Linked DNA regions of Homo sapiens: region 2 is linked to region 1. The links are contacts of gene promoters, found by promoter capture Hi-C in blood cells and fetal thymus (Javierre and others, 2016). All regions are on one chromosome and are shown on one strand. Each heading gives the region's core, a stretch centred on a gene start or on the middle of the fragment in contact. The rest is flanking DNA. Distances are from core to core; before and after follow the strand shown. Region 1 holds the start of CPSF4L (cleavage and polyadenylation specific factor 4 like). Region 2 overlaps SDK2 (sidekick cell adhesion molecule 2).

Evidence for each region. The method cuts DNA at HindIII sites, captures the fragments that hold promoters and counts their contacts. A CHiCAGO score of 5 or more calls a contact.
Region 2: a contact is called between a fragment that was not itself captured here and the fragment with the promoter of CPSF4L in region 1, in 6 of 17 cell types (monocytes, neutrophils, M1 macrophages and 3 more). The highest score is 10.4, in monocytes.

The regions. Positions count from the first base shown.
Region 1 is chr17:73,257,956-73,265,112 of GRCh38, forward strand. CPSF4L (cleavage and polyadenylation specific factor 4 like) reads right to left here and starts at 3,925. Exons shown (of 6, transcript NM_001129885.1): 1 at 3,761-3,925; 2 at 2,978-3,028. The coding sequence starts at 3,863. The HindIII fragment of the contact is 15,055 bases long and covers 1-7,157 here.
Region 2 is chr17:73,359,262-73,366,418 of GRCh38, forward strand. It overlaps SDK2 (sidekick cell adhesion molecule 2), which reads right to left. Exons shown (of 45, transcript NM_001144952.2): 38 at 5,997-6,134; 39 at 2,423-2,584. Among named protein-coding and RNA genes, the nearest start is that of CDC42EP4, 51 kb to the left of the region's middle. RefSeq lists enhancers at 1,797-2,468, 4,286-5,261, 5,726-6,228. The HindIII fragment of the contact is 1,781 bases long and covers 3,435-5,215 here.

The sequences.
Region 1 (7,157 bases), core at 2,675-5,174:
TTCACCTGGACCCTGTAGGGGCTGGAACTGGGAGCCGAGGCAGCATGAAGGGAGAGCTTTTTTTTTTTTTTTGAGACAGAATCTCGCTCTGTCGCCCAGGTTGGAGTGCAGCGGCGCGATCTTGGCTCACTGCAAGCTCCGCCTCCTGGGTTCACGCCATTCTCCTGCCTCCATTTCCTGAGTAGCTGGGACTACAGGCGCCAGCCACCACGCCCTGCTAATTTTTTGTATTTTTTAGTAGAGACAGGGTTTCACCGTGTTAGCCAGGATGGTCTCGATCTCCTGACCTTGTGATCTGCCCACCTCGGCCTCCCAAAGTGCTGGGATTACAGGCGTGAGCCACCGCGCCCAGCCAAGCTCTTGTTTTTGAGATGGCGTCTCGCTCTGTTGCCCATGCTAGAGAGCAATGGCACGGTCTCAGCTCACTGCAACCTCCACCTCCCAGGTTCAAGTGATCCTCCTGCCTCAGCCTCCCAAGTAGCTGGGATTACACCTGCAACTACACCCGGCTATTTTTTTTATTTTTAGTAGAGACGGGGTTTCACCATGTTGGCCAGGCTGGTCTCGAACTCCTGATCTCAGGTGATCCATCCGCCTCAGCCTCCCAAAGTGCTGGGATTACAGGCTTGAGCCACCGTGACTGGCCAGGGCAAGCTCTTCTTAAAGCACAGCTGTTCCCACTACCACACCTTTGCCCATCCTTCCCATCTGCCTGGAGTGCCATGCCCTTCTCCAGGGAAGTACCTGGGCTCAGAACAGCTGCCTCCTTTTCATTCCCAGAGTGCCTAACACCCCCTCTCGTCCTGCCAGGGAGCGGGGCCAGGCTTTCCAGCCCAGAATCCCCACACCCAGCCCAGCCCCTGGCACATAGTAAGTGCTCAGTAAGGGTGTGTTGAATTCCCATCTTTAAAAACATCAAATGTTATGCTTCCCGATTCCAGAGACCTAACAGGGTGACAGAAGAGCCAACTTTGTAATGATTTATAAGGAATATTCCATGGAAATGTTACATTTAACTGCTTTATCATCTTCACTCAAGTCTGCCTTGCTATTAGCAGGAAGGACACCCAGTTCCTAAGTTTCTTTAATTTATTTATTTATTTGAGACAGGATCTTAGTCTGTTGCCCAGGCTGGAGTGCAATGGCAAAGTCATGGCTTACTGTAGCCTCAACCTCCTAGACTCAGGAGTTCTCCCATCTCAGCCTCCCGAGTAGCTGGGACTACAGGCATGCACCACCACACTGAGCTAATTTTTTTATTTTTTGTAGAGACAGGGCTTTGCCATGTCATCCAGGCTGGCAGTTCCTGAGTTTCTAAGCAGGTCCAGCCTCATGCCTGGCCAGTTCTCTGACATAATTTGGGGGCTAGGGGAGGTGTTCTTTCCATTTTTCCTTTTTTAAAAAAAAAAAATTATGTTTTGTAGAGATGGGGTCTCGCTATGTTGCCCAGGCTGGTCTTGAGCGATTCTCCAGCCTCTGCCTCTCAAAGTGCTGGAATTACAAGTGTGAGCCTACTCCCCCGGCCAAGGTGCTCTTTTTAAATACCCCTAACCTCCACCCCTGGCTATTGACTTGCTTGGTTCTGACCTTCCACCATAATAGCTTTCTTTCTTTGCAGAAGGGTGTTGCTAGGAACCACTGCTCTAGGGACTGGTTGGGCTGAGCTGAGGAGATGCCACTCAGTCCACATTGAGCCTGCAGGGTCCTGGGTGCACAAGGCCTTGGGCGACCAGTGATCCCATTTCCCTTCTCCCTGTATGGTCTAGGGCTGGCCCCAAGACAAACAAGGCAGGTGGGCGAACATGGCCCCAGGTCCTCCTTTCCTGGTCCCCTCCAGCCCCCCAGCTTCCAGGGACAGACTCATTTGGATCAGAAAACATGTCCTAAACTCTCACACCAGTGAGATTTCTTAACCTAAATGTATAGGCAAGCGGGAGGAAGACAGGGAAACCCTAAAACTGGAAGCCAGTTTTTTTTGGCAATTGTATATTTCTGTTGAAAGAGCCTCTACATGAGCCATGAGCCAGAAGAAAAGTTGAAAACTCTTATATTTGAATCAGGCCTTCCCAGAATGGCTGCATTTGGGGAGAGGGGCCTAGGAAGACAGTATTGACCCAAAGTCAGGGCAGGAGAGAAGTGGAGGATGCTTTTTGATAGCATTTCAAAGATGGTGGCAGGTGCTACCTCAGGGCATAGGGAATGGATGAGACAATTGACCAGTTTACAAACTGAGTCAGAGCAGGGGACTGGGGGAGAAGGATGCCTCTCTTCTAGCTGGGAGGAAATCAAGAAAAACATTAAGAAGCTGGAGCCTCCTGGGAATGCACAGGCCAAAGCTCAGACACACGCCCATCCCAGCAAGGCAGAAAGAAAAAAATACCCCTTTCCAGGCAGCCTGGTTACCCTGATGCGAACTGCAAACTATGAAGACTGCTGCTGAGGCGGGAAAATCTTAGGGGAGGGGCAGGCTGCTCGGTGGATCCAACCACTTATCCTTTGTCTACCTGTAAGTCTAAAATTCTGCTCCATGGCCGGGCATGGTGGCTCACGCCTGTAATCCCAGCACTTTGGGAGGCCCAGGCAGGTGGATCACCTGAGGTGAGGAGTTTGAGACCCGCCTGGCCAACATGACAAAACTCCATCTCTACTAAAAATGCAAAAATTAGCCGGGCTTGGTGGCATGCACCTGTAGTTCCAGTTACTCGGGAGGCTGAGGAAGGAGAATCGCTTGAACCCAGGAGGCAGAGGTTGCAGTGAGTTGAGATCACGCCAGATCACTCTAGCCTGGGCAACAGAGCGAGATTCCATCTAAAAATAAATAAATAAAATAAAAATAAAATTCCGTTCCATCCCAATTTTCCCTCCCCAGGTGCAAATTCGACACCCTATCCCAGGCCAGGCAGAGCCCCTGCTGGGTGTAGCTCAGACAGACCCTACACTCACCCAGCTTGGGGCCCAGGCCTGTCTGCTAACTCACCTTTCTCACAGAGCCCTTTAGTGAAGAAGTTGCACACAGCTGAGGCCGACTCTGGAAGGAGAAGAGGGAACGGAGAAGGTAGCTTCCCCAGAGGCTGCAGCTGTTCCGGAAGCCTCCACCTCCATCGGCATGTCCCACCTAGACCTCCCCCAGGCTCTGGCCTATGGGATCCCAAATCTGGGCCCTGTAGAGGTTAACCTGCAGAGCCAGCCAGCAGACCTCAACCCTTAACCCCCCAACTCTGAAACAGAGGAGCTCGAGGGGCTCAAGCCTGGCCCAGGAGCTCGGGAGGCCAGTGTGGCTTCTCTCAATTCACCGTCTCTCTGTGCCTCTCTTTCTCAGTCTGGAAAATGGGTTGCCCCGAAGCCACAGAAGAGAGAGACAGAGAAGGGGCGGTCGCATCAGGGAGTTGAGCAGAGAGGCCTGTAGAGAAGGAAGGGGGAGGGAGGCTGGGCGTGGTGGCTCATGCCTGTAATCCCAGCACTTTGGGAGGCCAAGGCGGGCGGATCACGAGGTCAGGAGATTGAGACCATCCTGGCTAACATGGTGAAACCCGGTCTCTACTAAAAATACAAAAAATCAGCTGGGCGTGGTGGCGGGCGCCTGTAGTCCCAGCTCCTCGGGAGGCTGAGGCAGGAGAATGGCGTGAACCCAGGAGGCAGAGCTTGCAATGAGCCGAGATTGTGCCACTACACTCCAGCCTGGGCTACAGAGCGAGACTCCGTCTCAAAGAAAAAAAAACAGAGAAGGTAGGGGAGGGAAAGTGGCCCCACCCTCACTCACTGTCCATGCCCTGGAAAGGCAGGAGCCCAGTGCCCTTCTGCATCTCGACATCCTTCTCGAAGGCAAAGGTGAACCGCTCTAGCCCCGCAATGACCTCTTGCATCTTCCGTCTCCTGCTGGGGCTGCGGAAGCTGCTGGAACCCAGGCAGGTGGGCCCAATATAGCTCATCAGAGGCCCTTAAGGGGCCAGCGCCCAATGCCTCCCCCTTCACCCCAGGGTGCCAGTGGCCAGGTGACTGCAGGGGACGCTCCAGCCTGGGCTGTACAGGAGCAGGGCCCAGCTGCCTCACCCGGCCCACCCAGTGCAGGGGCAGACACCCCAGGGCCCCTCACCCCCACACTGTGTACACAAGGCTCACTCGGATAGGGAGGGATTCGCAGAGCCCCACAAACTGCTTATCTTTGCATGTTACCGAACACAAACGTGGCGTGCACACAGACATTACCAAACCTGGGCTCATACTTTGTCCATGAAGACACAGCCACAGGTTAGCAAAGAGTTGCACAAACCAACCGCAGCAAGGCTGTTATTCTGCCAGAGCTGGGGGTGGTGGGGGTTTGCAGAGGGAGGGAGCCGTCCCACCTCCCCGCTTCTTCCCATGAGGGAAGGGGTCTCCCTCTGGGGCCCCTGACACCCCTTTTCTGGCCTGAGTGACAAGCCCCGAGTGAGCTCTTCGTGGGAGACAGGGAAAAAGGAATGAAGAGGAGAGGAACTGAAACAGTTGGATGAATGGCGCTTTGTTTACCTCGCACACAATCGCCAGCTTGGCGGGAGGGCGGAACCGACCAAGGCCAGGGCGGCCTCCCAGCCAGGATTCCACAGGGCCACCCAGTGCCACCCCACCCCTGAGAAAGTGCTTTATAAATGAAATCTCTATGCAAATGTTGTTTTATTATTATTACACCACCCCTGCCTGCAGGGCTGGGGACATCTGACAATGCTTTCAAAGGAGCATGTTAGGGCTCTAATTAGACCAGGTTCCCCCTCCCCCTGCTCTGGCCCCAAACTGGCCTTGCCTCTAACTAGAGCTGCTGTTCTCAGTCACATTGGCTTTTAATGCCCATAGAACCAGAACCCATACGCCCTCCTTTCTGGGTGCCCAAACCCAGCAGGGAGAGGTGGGCAGCCCCGCAGGCTCTCAGCTGGGCCAACATGAACTAGCCTGCTGGCTGTTGTTCCCCGTGGCTGTTGCTCCTAGATCTGTTCTTTTGAACTCCAGATCAGAAAAGAAAATAGCTGGAGAGATAGACACCTGGAGCCGAGGTGGGACTGGGAGGAGCAGGGACGAGATCCAAGAGTTTCCAGAAGCTCAGGCCTCTGACTGCATCCTGGGAGAGGCAGAGGGACCCAGCTCCAGGGCTAGAGGGTGGGGCCAAGGGGGTCCCTGGGGTAGAAACCCTGGCTTCTCTTGGCCTTAGTTGTATGCGTTGATTAGTAGTCCCAAGAATGCATTCATCTGTCAACACAGGCTCATTAAAGGCTCACAGAAGCCTGGCAGCGCAGGCAGGACTGATGAGGGAATCAAAGCCCAGGGAGGCCAAGACCACATGGTTTGGGAGGCGCTATGGATGGGGTTCACATCTAGGTCTCTTGATGACTTCCTTCCCTAAACATCCCTGAGCATCTCTGCACTAGGGCCACGTCCCTATCCTCAGAGATGGCCCCATCAAGGAGGGGACATTAGCCATTCACACAATAATGCGATGGAGGCATGAGGGGCCCAGCAGGGCAGGAAGGGGTAGCAGGCAGAGCTCTCTCAATGGAGAGTCATGATGATGGGGAGAGAATGTTCTGGAAGAAGGCCAGCAGTATGAAGGTTGGGGCATGGAGCAATGTGAAGGCTGAGGAGGCGCTCAAGGGTTTGGTTTGGCAGAAGCGGGGGTAAAGAGGTGGAATGGGGGCAATGAGGCTTAAGAGCTGAGAAGGGACCCAACTCTGGGGGGCCTGCTGGGGCCAGCTTTGGGGGGAAGTGATCGTGAAGGCAGCAGAGCCACCACAGGGCTCTGAGAACTGTACATGGCTCTCTGAGGGATGGTCGGGGGAAGACTGGACAGGGGCTGCTTAGAGGATGAATTTTTTTTTTTTTTTTTTTTTTGAGACTGAGTCTTGCTCTATTGACCAGGCTGGAGTGCAGTGGCGCGATCTCGGCTCACTGCAACCTCTGCCTCCCAGGTTCAAGCAATTCTCCTGCCTCAGCCTCCTGAGTAGCTGAGATTACAGGCCCACACCACCACACCTGGCTAATTTTTGTACTTTTAGTAGAGACAGGGTTTCGCCATATTGGCCAGGCTGGTCTCGAACTCCTGACCTCAGGTGATCTGCCTGCCTCATCCTCCCAAAGTGCTAGGATTACAGGCATGAGCCACCGTGCCCAGCCTGGGGATGATTTTTTAAAATCATGAGAGCCCTGGGGATATAGCCCAGAGATCTTTCTGCTACTCTGGTGGCCTGCAAGAGTTAATTGATGAGGGATGAACATGAAGGAGACTCCTGGTTAAGACTCCTCCCTCCAGCACCCCAGCTTCTCTGCTCCTCCACCAGGGGCTTCCCATCCCACTTCTAGGTGCCTGGCCAGCAGAGGTGTGTGGTGGGTGTCACATGGATGAAATCCCTTCTCCCAGTGGCTCATCATTAGTTTGGCACACAAACAACGGGGCTTGCATTCATAGTTTTTGCTTATTCAAAATACCTTCTGCAGTAAATTGAACTGGCTACCCAAAAAGTCTAGGTCTAGGCCAGGTGCAGTGGCTCACGCCTGTAATCCCAGCATTTTCAGAGGCCAAGGCAGGAGGATCACCTGAGCCCAGGAGTGCAAGACCAGCCTGGGCAACAAAGCAGGACTCCCATCTCTACAAAAAATTAAAAAATTATTAGGTGGGCATGGTGGCACATGTCTGTAGTTCCAGCTACTTGGGAGGCTGAGGCAGGAGGATTGCTTGAGTCCAGGAGGTTGAGGCTGCAGTAAGCCATGATTGCACCACTGCACTCCAGCCTGGGTGACAGAGCAAGACCCTTTCTTCAAAGGAAAAAAAAAAAAAAGGCCAGGCATGTTGGCTCACTCACGTCTGTAATCCCAGCACTTTGGGAGTCCAAGGTGGGTGGATCAACTGAGGTCAGGAGTTCAAGAGCAGCCTGGCCAACATGGTGAAACCCCGTCTCTATTAAAAATACAAAAAATTGGCTGGGCGCGGTGGCTCACGCCTGTAATCCCAGCACTTCGGGAAGCCGAGGTGGGCGGATCATCTGAGGTTGGGAGTTCGAGACCAGTCTGATCAACATGGAGAAACCCCGTCTCTACTAAAAATACAAAATTAGCCAGGCGTGGTGGCGCACACCTGTAATCCCAGCTACTTGGGAGGCTGAGGCAGGAGAATCGCTGGAACCCAGGAGGTAAAG
Region 2 (7,157 bases), core at 3,075-5,574, 100 kb after region 1:
GCCCTCCTTACACAGCCTGGCAACCCCACCCGGCCACTATGCCCACCCCATCGCTCACACAGCCTGGCAGCCCCGCCTGGCCCCTATGCCCACCCCACAGCATTGGAGGGCACCATTTCCTTCCTTCCCTATGGAGCAGCCTGTCTGCAGCACAAGGGCAGAGTAACTGCGGGGTCAGGTGGGGTGGACACGCCTGAGGGAGTATGGTAGGGCAGGCAGCCCTCAGGACCCTGTACTCATCCTGCACAGGACAGTACTCAGGGCTGAGGACAGAGCCTGCACCTTCTCCGGGGCCAGGAGCTTCCAGCGAGTCCAGCCACTGCCTGGCTGCATGTTCCCCGCCTGCAGACCGCCCCCTGCACCCACACCATGTGGGAGGATGGCTTCTTTATTTCTTTTTTTGAGACACGTTCTCACTCTGTTGCCCAGGCGGGAGTGCAGGGGCACGATCACAGCTCACTGCAGCCTCCACCTCCTGGGCTCAAACGATTCTCCCACGACAGCCTCCTGAGTAGCTGGGACTTCAGGTATTCACCAGTATGCCTGGATAATTTTATTTTTGTAGAGATGGGGTTTTGCTGTATTGCCCAGGCTGGTCTTGAACTCCTGGGCTCAGGCAATCCACCCGCCTCCACCTCCCAAAATGTTGGGATTACAGGCGTGAACCCCCACACCCGGCTGGTTCTTTCTTTCTCAGAGTGCCCTCCACTACCTTCTCTGAACCCTCTGCCCTTTATCTCCTCCCACCTCCCCACCTCTCAGCCTGGGACACTTCAAGCCTCAGGATAGAACAGCCTGTCCTCCGCACAGCCCTCTCCTGTCCCCAGGCCACTGCCAACGCTTGGTCCTCAGTTGCTTGCCAGCTCTCTCTCCTACTTTTGTTTCCCAGGAAGCTGGCTCAGGTGAGAGGCAGCGCGGGGCGGGGCTGGAGGCAGATGAAAGGACAGCGGCTGGGTGGCTCCTGGGCTGCCTCCTGCAGGCTTTGTCCTGAGTTTGCCCTAGAGCTACAGGGCTTCTTTGCAGAACCAGACTGTGGGGAATAGAAAGTGACTGGCCAGAAAGAAAAAGTGAAGCGCAGCCAGACTAAGCCATTAGGGGAAGACTCTCTTCCTGAGTCAGGCTAATTGGGACTGCTGGGGAGGGGAGGCCTGCGCCATTCTTGGCTGAAGGGGGTGGGCAGAGGAGGAGATGGGATTTTAGGGGAAGTCCAGGATGGGCTGTACCCCTTCTTAGGGAGGGAGGCAGCAGAGTGGTCTGGGAGGTGACTTTTGTGTTCAGGACAGGACATTCTACACTGACCAGTAACAGGGACTTTGGAGGGCTAAACCTTGACCATGGCAAATGCCTGGGGGGATGAGGGGTGGGAGGGGAAGGGAGGTGAAGAGGACATTTAAAGGAGGCGATTGGGCACAGTGGCTCATGCCTGTAATCCCAGCACTTTGGGAGACTGCAGCAGGTGGATCACTTGAGGTCAGGAGTTGGAGACCAGCCTGGCCAAACCCTGTCTCTACTAAAAATACAAAAATTAGCTGGTCGTGGTAGAAATCACCTGTAATCCCAGCTACTTGGGAGGCTGAAGCTTGAGAATTGCTTGAACCCGGGAGGTGGAGGTTGCAGTGAACTGAGATTGCACCACTGCACTCCAGCCTGGATGACAGAGCGAGACTCTGTCTCCAGAAAAAAAAAAAAAAAGCCCAAACAACAACAACAGAAACAATACAGGAGATTAAGGAAGACTTCCTGGGGTGAGGGGCGGGCAGTTACACACAAAAGGGCGTTCTGCGGAGGGGGTGGGTGGTGAGGTGGGGGAGGCAGGGCCCTGGCTGTGAATAGGTGACCTGCTCCATCAGGTGTTTCTCAAGGTGCCACTTTGTCACGGCCTCCAGGGGCTTTTGTCTAAGTGCAGACTGCCAGGTCCCACCTCAGCCCCAGGAAATCAACCCCTCGGAGCATCCACCCTGGGAACGTGCATTTTAGTGCGCCCTGCTCTGAGAACCGCTGCCTGGAGGGTAGGGGTGGTTCAGGGGCGTGGGAAGATGGCTCTGGCTGGGCGAAAGGCAGGGGCACCTGCCAGGCTGCATCCTTCCAGGACGGAAGTAAAGGAGGCCATGCAATTAGCAGGGAGAGAAAGAACGAAGCAGGCGCAGTGGCCAGGCCAGGCCTGTGGGCTGGGCCTAAGTGGGAGAGGAGGGGGCGCTGCTCCAGGGTTTGTGGCTTGAGGAACCTGAGGACACATTAATCAAAGCGTGGAGCCCGGGAGGAGGGAGCGGGGGGAGGGGTCACTGGGCACCAGGGGAAAGAGTGAGCTCTGTCCTCCACTCTGTTTCCAGGGTCCAGCACAGCTCTTGACACCGGGGGCCCCTTCTGACTGGGGACGCTGAACCGCCGTGTGGAAGACATGCCTGGTCCGTTGCTCTCCTACCTTCTCCGGGGCCCGTGGTGACGTTGGCTTCGATCTCCGGCCCGTAGGTGAAGGTCTTGGCTCTGATGCGGAACCTGTAGGTCACCCCCTCCGCCAGGTCCTTCACCTTCAGCCACAGGGGGCTGTTCCCCTTCACGTCCACGGTCACGATCTTGCTGACTCCTGGGGGAGGCACAGCAAGTGGGGACTGGGCACAGGGCCCACCGAGGGCACTGGAGGCCATGGGGAAGGGGAAGCGGCCGTGGCCTGGGCCCCGGGACCCTGGGTAGGGGCCTCACTCCTTGAGGTCAGGCTGAAATGCACCCCCAGCCCACACAACCACATTGCCCATGCTGTGTTTCTCACAGCACGGTCCTGCCTGCTGTTCTCAGGGAGAACGGCTCCATGGTTCAGTATGTTTGGGAAAAGCTACTACTGTCTGTGTCTACTGAGTAGCCACAGGGTCCATCATCAGCATCTACAGAAAAGAGAACACTCGCCATCCTGTTTAATGTAACCTCTGCACCCCAAATATGTTTCGGCTCCATTGCTATTCCCTTATGCAGCATCCCATGGGACTAGAATTATATCCTTTTTCAGGAAGTGCTTCCATAAAAATACCAAAAGCCCAGAGTTGCGGGGACACACTTTTGACCAGGTCCTCCACCTGAGCCCCACTCCAGCTCCACCTCTGGGGTTCAGCCAGGAGCTCACATGGCCCTCCAGCACCTATATCTGCCACAATTTTTTTTTTTTTTTTAAGACAAGGTCTTGCTCTGTTGCTCAGGCACAATCATGGCTCACTGTAGCCTCGACCTCCTGGGTTCAAGCCGTCCTGCCACTTTCAGCCTTCCAAGTAGCTAAGACTGTAGGTGTGCACCATCATGCCTGGCTAATTTTTAAATTTTTGTAGAGACAGGGTCTCATTATGTTGCCCAGGCTGGTCGCGAACTCCTGGCCTCAAGTGATCCTCCCACCTTGGCCTCTCAAAGTGCTGGGATTATAGGCATGAACCACTATGCCCAGTCCACCAAGCTTTTTAGGGCAAAAGTGAGGATGCCTCAGCACCCCAAATCACAGCAACTAGAGGGGACGCTTGAGCCAGCTTTCAGGAGGTGGGGGTTTGCACTCTGTGCTTCGCGAATCCAAATACTCCTGACTGCCAGCCTCCCTGGGAGCCGGGGTTAGTGTCATTTCCCATGTCCATCGAGCACGCCAGTCACCAGTGAAAGACAGGCCTTGCAGCCAATAGGCTGGGCTCAGACCCAGTGATGGCGCCGGCCCCGGCATGTCCCTTAACTTGGCTTCAGTTTGTTCTGCCGAGTGAGGGTGTCCACAGCATCTTAGGCAGGGATGCTATGAGCTTTAAGTAAAATAACAGAGCATGTAGGTGCCTGACCTATTTATTGACTAAGTGGATTACTAATATTATCGTTTTGAGGTGGATTTTCACTATTGTTGCCCAGGCTGGAGTGCAATGGCGCGATCTCAGCTCACTGAAACCTCCGCCTCCTGGGTTCAAGCGATTCTCCTGCCTCAGCCTCCCGAGTAGGCGTCCACTACCACACCCAGCTAATTTTGTATTTTTAGTAGAGACAGGATTTTGCCACGTTGGTCAGGCTGGTCTCGAACTCCTGAACTCAGGTGATCCACCGCCTCGGCCTCCCGAAGTGCTGGGATTGCAGGTGTGAGCCACTGCACCCGGCCGCTAAGTGGATTACTAAATGATGGAACAATGTAGGCTCAGAGGGGCTTCCTGAAAGAATGAAATGACCCTGGGACCAGGAACAGGGACTCTGGCTACCTGCTCCTTGACAATTCTGAACAAAGCCCTCATCTGCCTGGACCTTGGTTTTCCCTACAGGACAGTGGGGGCTGCTGGGCTTTTGTGAGGCTGGTTTGCTATTGACCTGAACCCAGGATGAACTGGGGTGTGGACACTGGGCTGTCCAGGCGGGGCCTTGTCTTGCTGTACTTATTAACTGAACTATTATGGGAAGATGGGAATGTGTAGGGGTGTGGAGTTGAGCCACACAGTCCAGATCCCACCAGACTGTGGAATTGGAAGGCAAAGAGCTCACATCCTCAAGTTGAGAGGGTCCTGGACAGGCCAGGTTGAGGCCCCTGTGAAGAGGGCTTGTGCTGGCCCCCTGTACCTTGTCTCGGGGACTGCTGTCCTCTGCCCCACTCCGGCCCTGCACCTGACTGGATCTCCTGCTGGGGCCTGGCTCCCCCCTGGTGTTCTAACACACAGCTCCCCTTTGCAGAACGAGCTGCTGGCACCCAGGTGGTAGCAGGGAAGACTGAGGGCCATTGTTCCCTAGGCTCACCGAGAACTGCTGGTCACAACGATGTTCCCAGGTCTCTGCCCCTTGTTCTTGCCAGGCTCCGTGATTGGAGGGGGTGAGAGTGAGAGGGGTGGCTCCAGAGGTCAGCCACACCCCCAGCACCTGGCTGGGACTAGTCCCAGGCAGTGAGGAACGCAGTTTCCTTCCTGCCTAAATCCCATCCTCATAGGATGGTTGTTCATAACAAAATGGCAGGGATTTCTTGGCATGTTACCAGGGGTAGAAAGCTGGCAGGTACCAGATGCCCATTGTCAGGGGCTGCGCAGCCCAGCCTAGGAGCCCAGAAATGGGCAGGTTCCCAGCTGGGGCCCGGAGGAAGGGGTCAGAAGACCAGTCAGATGAACAGGGTTAAGGACAAGAGCGAGGTCATTTGCAGAGCAGGGCTCTTGATCTGGGGTCCGCAGATAGCAGTGGGGGGTGCAGGGACCTCCTTGGTCTTGTGTATCTTCCTGGGGAGAGGCTCTGAAGCTTTGGTCAGATTCTCATCAGATTCTCCAAGGGGTTCCTGACTCCCACCAAAGCTAAAGAAGGACTAACCCACAGTAAAGCTGAGAACCCTAAGGTTTGGGAAAGGGCAAAGTAGGACCCTCAGGGGCTCCCCTCTTCTTTTTCTTTTCTTTTTTCCTTTTGAGATGGAATCTAGCTCTGTCGCCCAGGCTGGAGTGCAGTGGCGTGATCCCGGCTTACTGCAACCTCTGCCTGCCGGGTTCAAGCGATTCTCCTGCCTCAGCTTCCCGAGTAGCTGAGACTACAGGTACCCACCACCACACCCGGCTAATTTTTGTATTTTCAGTAGAGACGGGGTTTCACCATGTTGGCCAGGCTGGTCTTGGAACTCCTGACCTCAGGTGATCCACCCGCCTCAGCCTCCCAAAGTGCTGTCATTACAGGCGTGAGCCACCGTCCTTGGCTGCCCCCCTTCTTTATGGTCTCAACAGAGCCCTGTCCACTCAGGTTTCCCTTCCTTTCCTCCCTGTTTCCGTTGACCAAAGGGGGAAGAATATATTTAACGATTCTCTGCCTGGAAGTTAGGAGACCTGGATCTCTCTTCCAACTCTGCCCTCAACTTGCTGTTGTTTTACCTTGGAAATGCACTTTCCCTTGTCTGGGACTCAGTTTCCGTGTTTATAAGATGGGGAGACTCTCACCGAATCTCACTCATGTGTAGTGGCTGTGATGGGCGCTGAGATGAGAGCGAGCTTTTGCAAAGTGGGGGGCTGGGGAGCTGTGCTGGGGGGTCCACTCACCATCCACGGGGCTGCAGGGCTCGTACACCAGCCTGTAGCCCTCCAGGATGCCATTGGGGAACTGCGGGGCTTCCCAGGACACATTCACTGAGGTTGTGGTCAGCTCACTGAACTTGACCGAGCTGGGAGCGCTGGGGGCTGCGGGAGACAGCAAAGGGTTTTTGTTTCCTTCTTCTGTGGAAGTTCAAAGCCTCGGGTTCAGCTCCAAGGAGCTAGCGGGAGTATTGGGTCTGAGCCCGGGAGGAACAAGAGCGTGGGGCTCGGCAGAAAGGGCGGGCAGGAGGGGTCACTGGAGGCCATCAGGCCCCCTTCCTCTCCTCTCTCAACTTTCCAGTATCAGAGTCCTAAGAACTGGGAAGAAAGAGAACTCGATTTTTCCCTCAAGTTGCAGAATTCAGGCTTCTCCCTGCTAAGTGGCTCTGAGCCCGGGCTATGAGTGTGGGACAAGCTGTCACACCCCCGGGGTCATCGTGGGGCAAGGCCATTTCCTGGCTTTGCGGGGTTCGTCTTTTGGCTTTCGTGGAGAAGGTGGGGGTGTCTGGGCCTCAGAATATTCGGTAGGCGCTAAACAAAGAAGACACCAGAACCACAGCAGACGGAGATGGCCTTCCTCTCCTCCTGGGGCTCCAGGGCTTGTCACAGAGGCCCCACGCAGTCAGGGGGAGCCACGCCAAGGACAGTCAGACCCTCTGGGAGAAATGTTTTCTCGGACCAAGAACCCTGTGGCAACCCCAAAATCATGGGGGTGGGGGCTCCCCTGATGGGGAGGACAGAGGAAGGGCAGGAAGCGTCCCAATCTGCGGCATCCCCAGCTGGCCCAGGGAGGATGACCAGGCTATTATTGTCCGGCGCTGCCTCCCCACCACGCTGGAGCTAATCCGGACCTGCTTCCGGCTCCAGCCCCAGGAGGCAGAGTCAGCGAGTGTCTTTGAAGGAGGGAGGTGAGCTCAGGGGGCCCTTCCTGCCTCCCCTGTGCTACAGGGACGTGGGACAGAACATGTTGTCCTGCTGCCGCAGTGACGGAAGCCTCGGGTTCCCTGGGGTTCGCATCTGGCAGATGGCACTGACAAAAGAGTGGCCGGGACAGGAGGCGGACGGACAGACTTGTATATTCAGCAGCTCACGCTCATTCTGGCCACCGTCAGACCCTGGGGGTAGTGG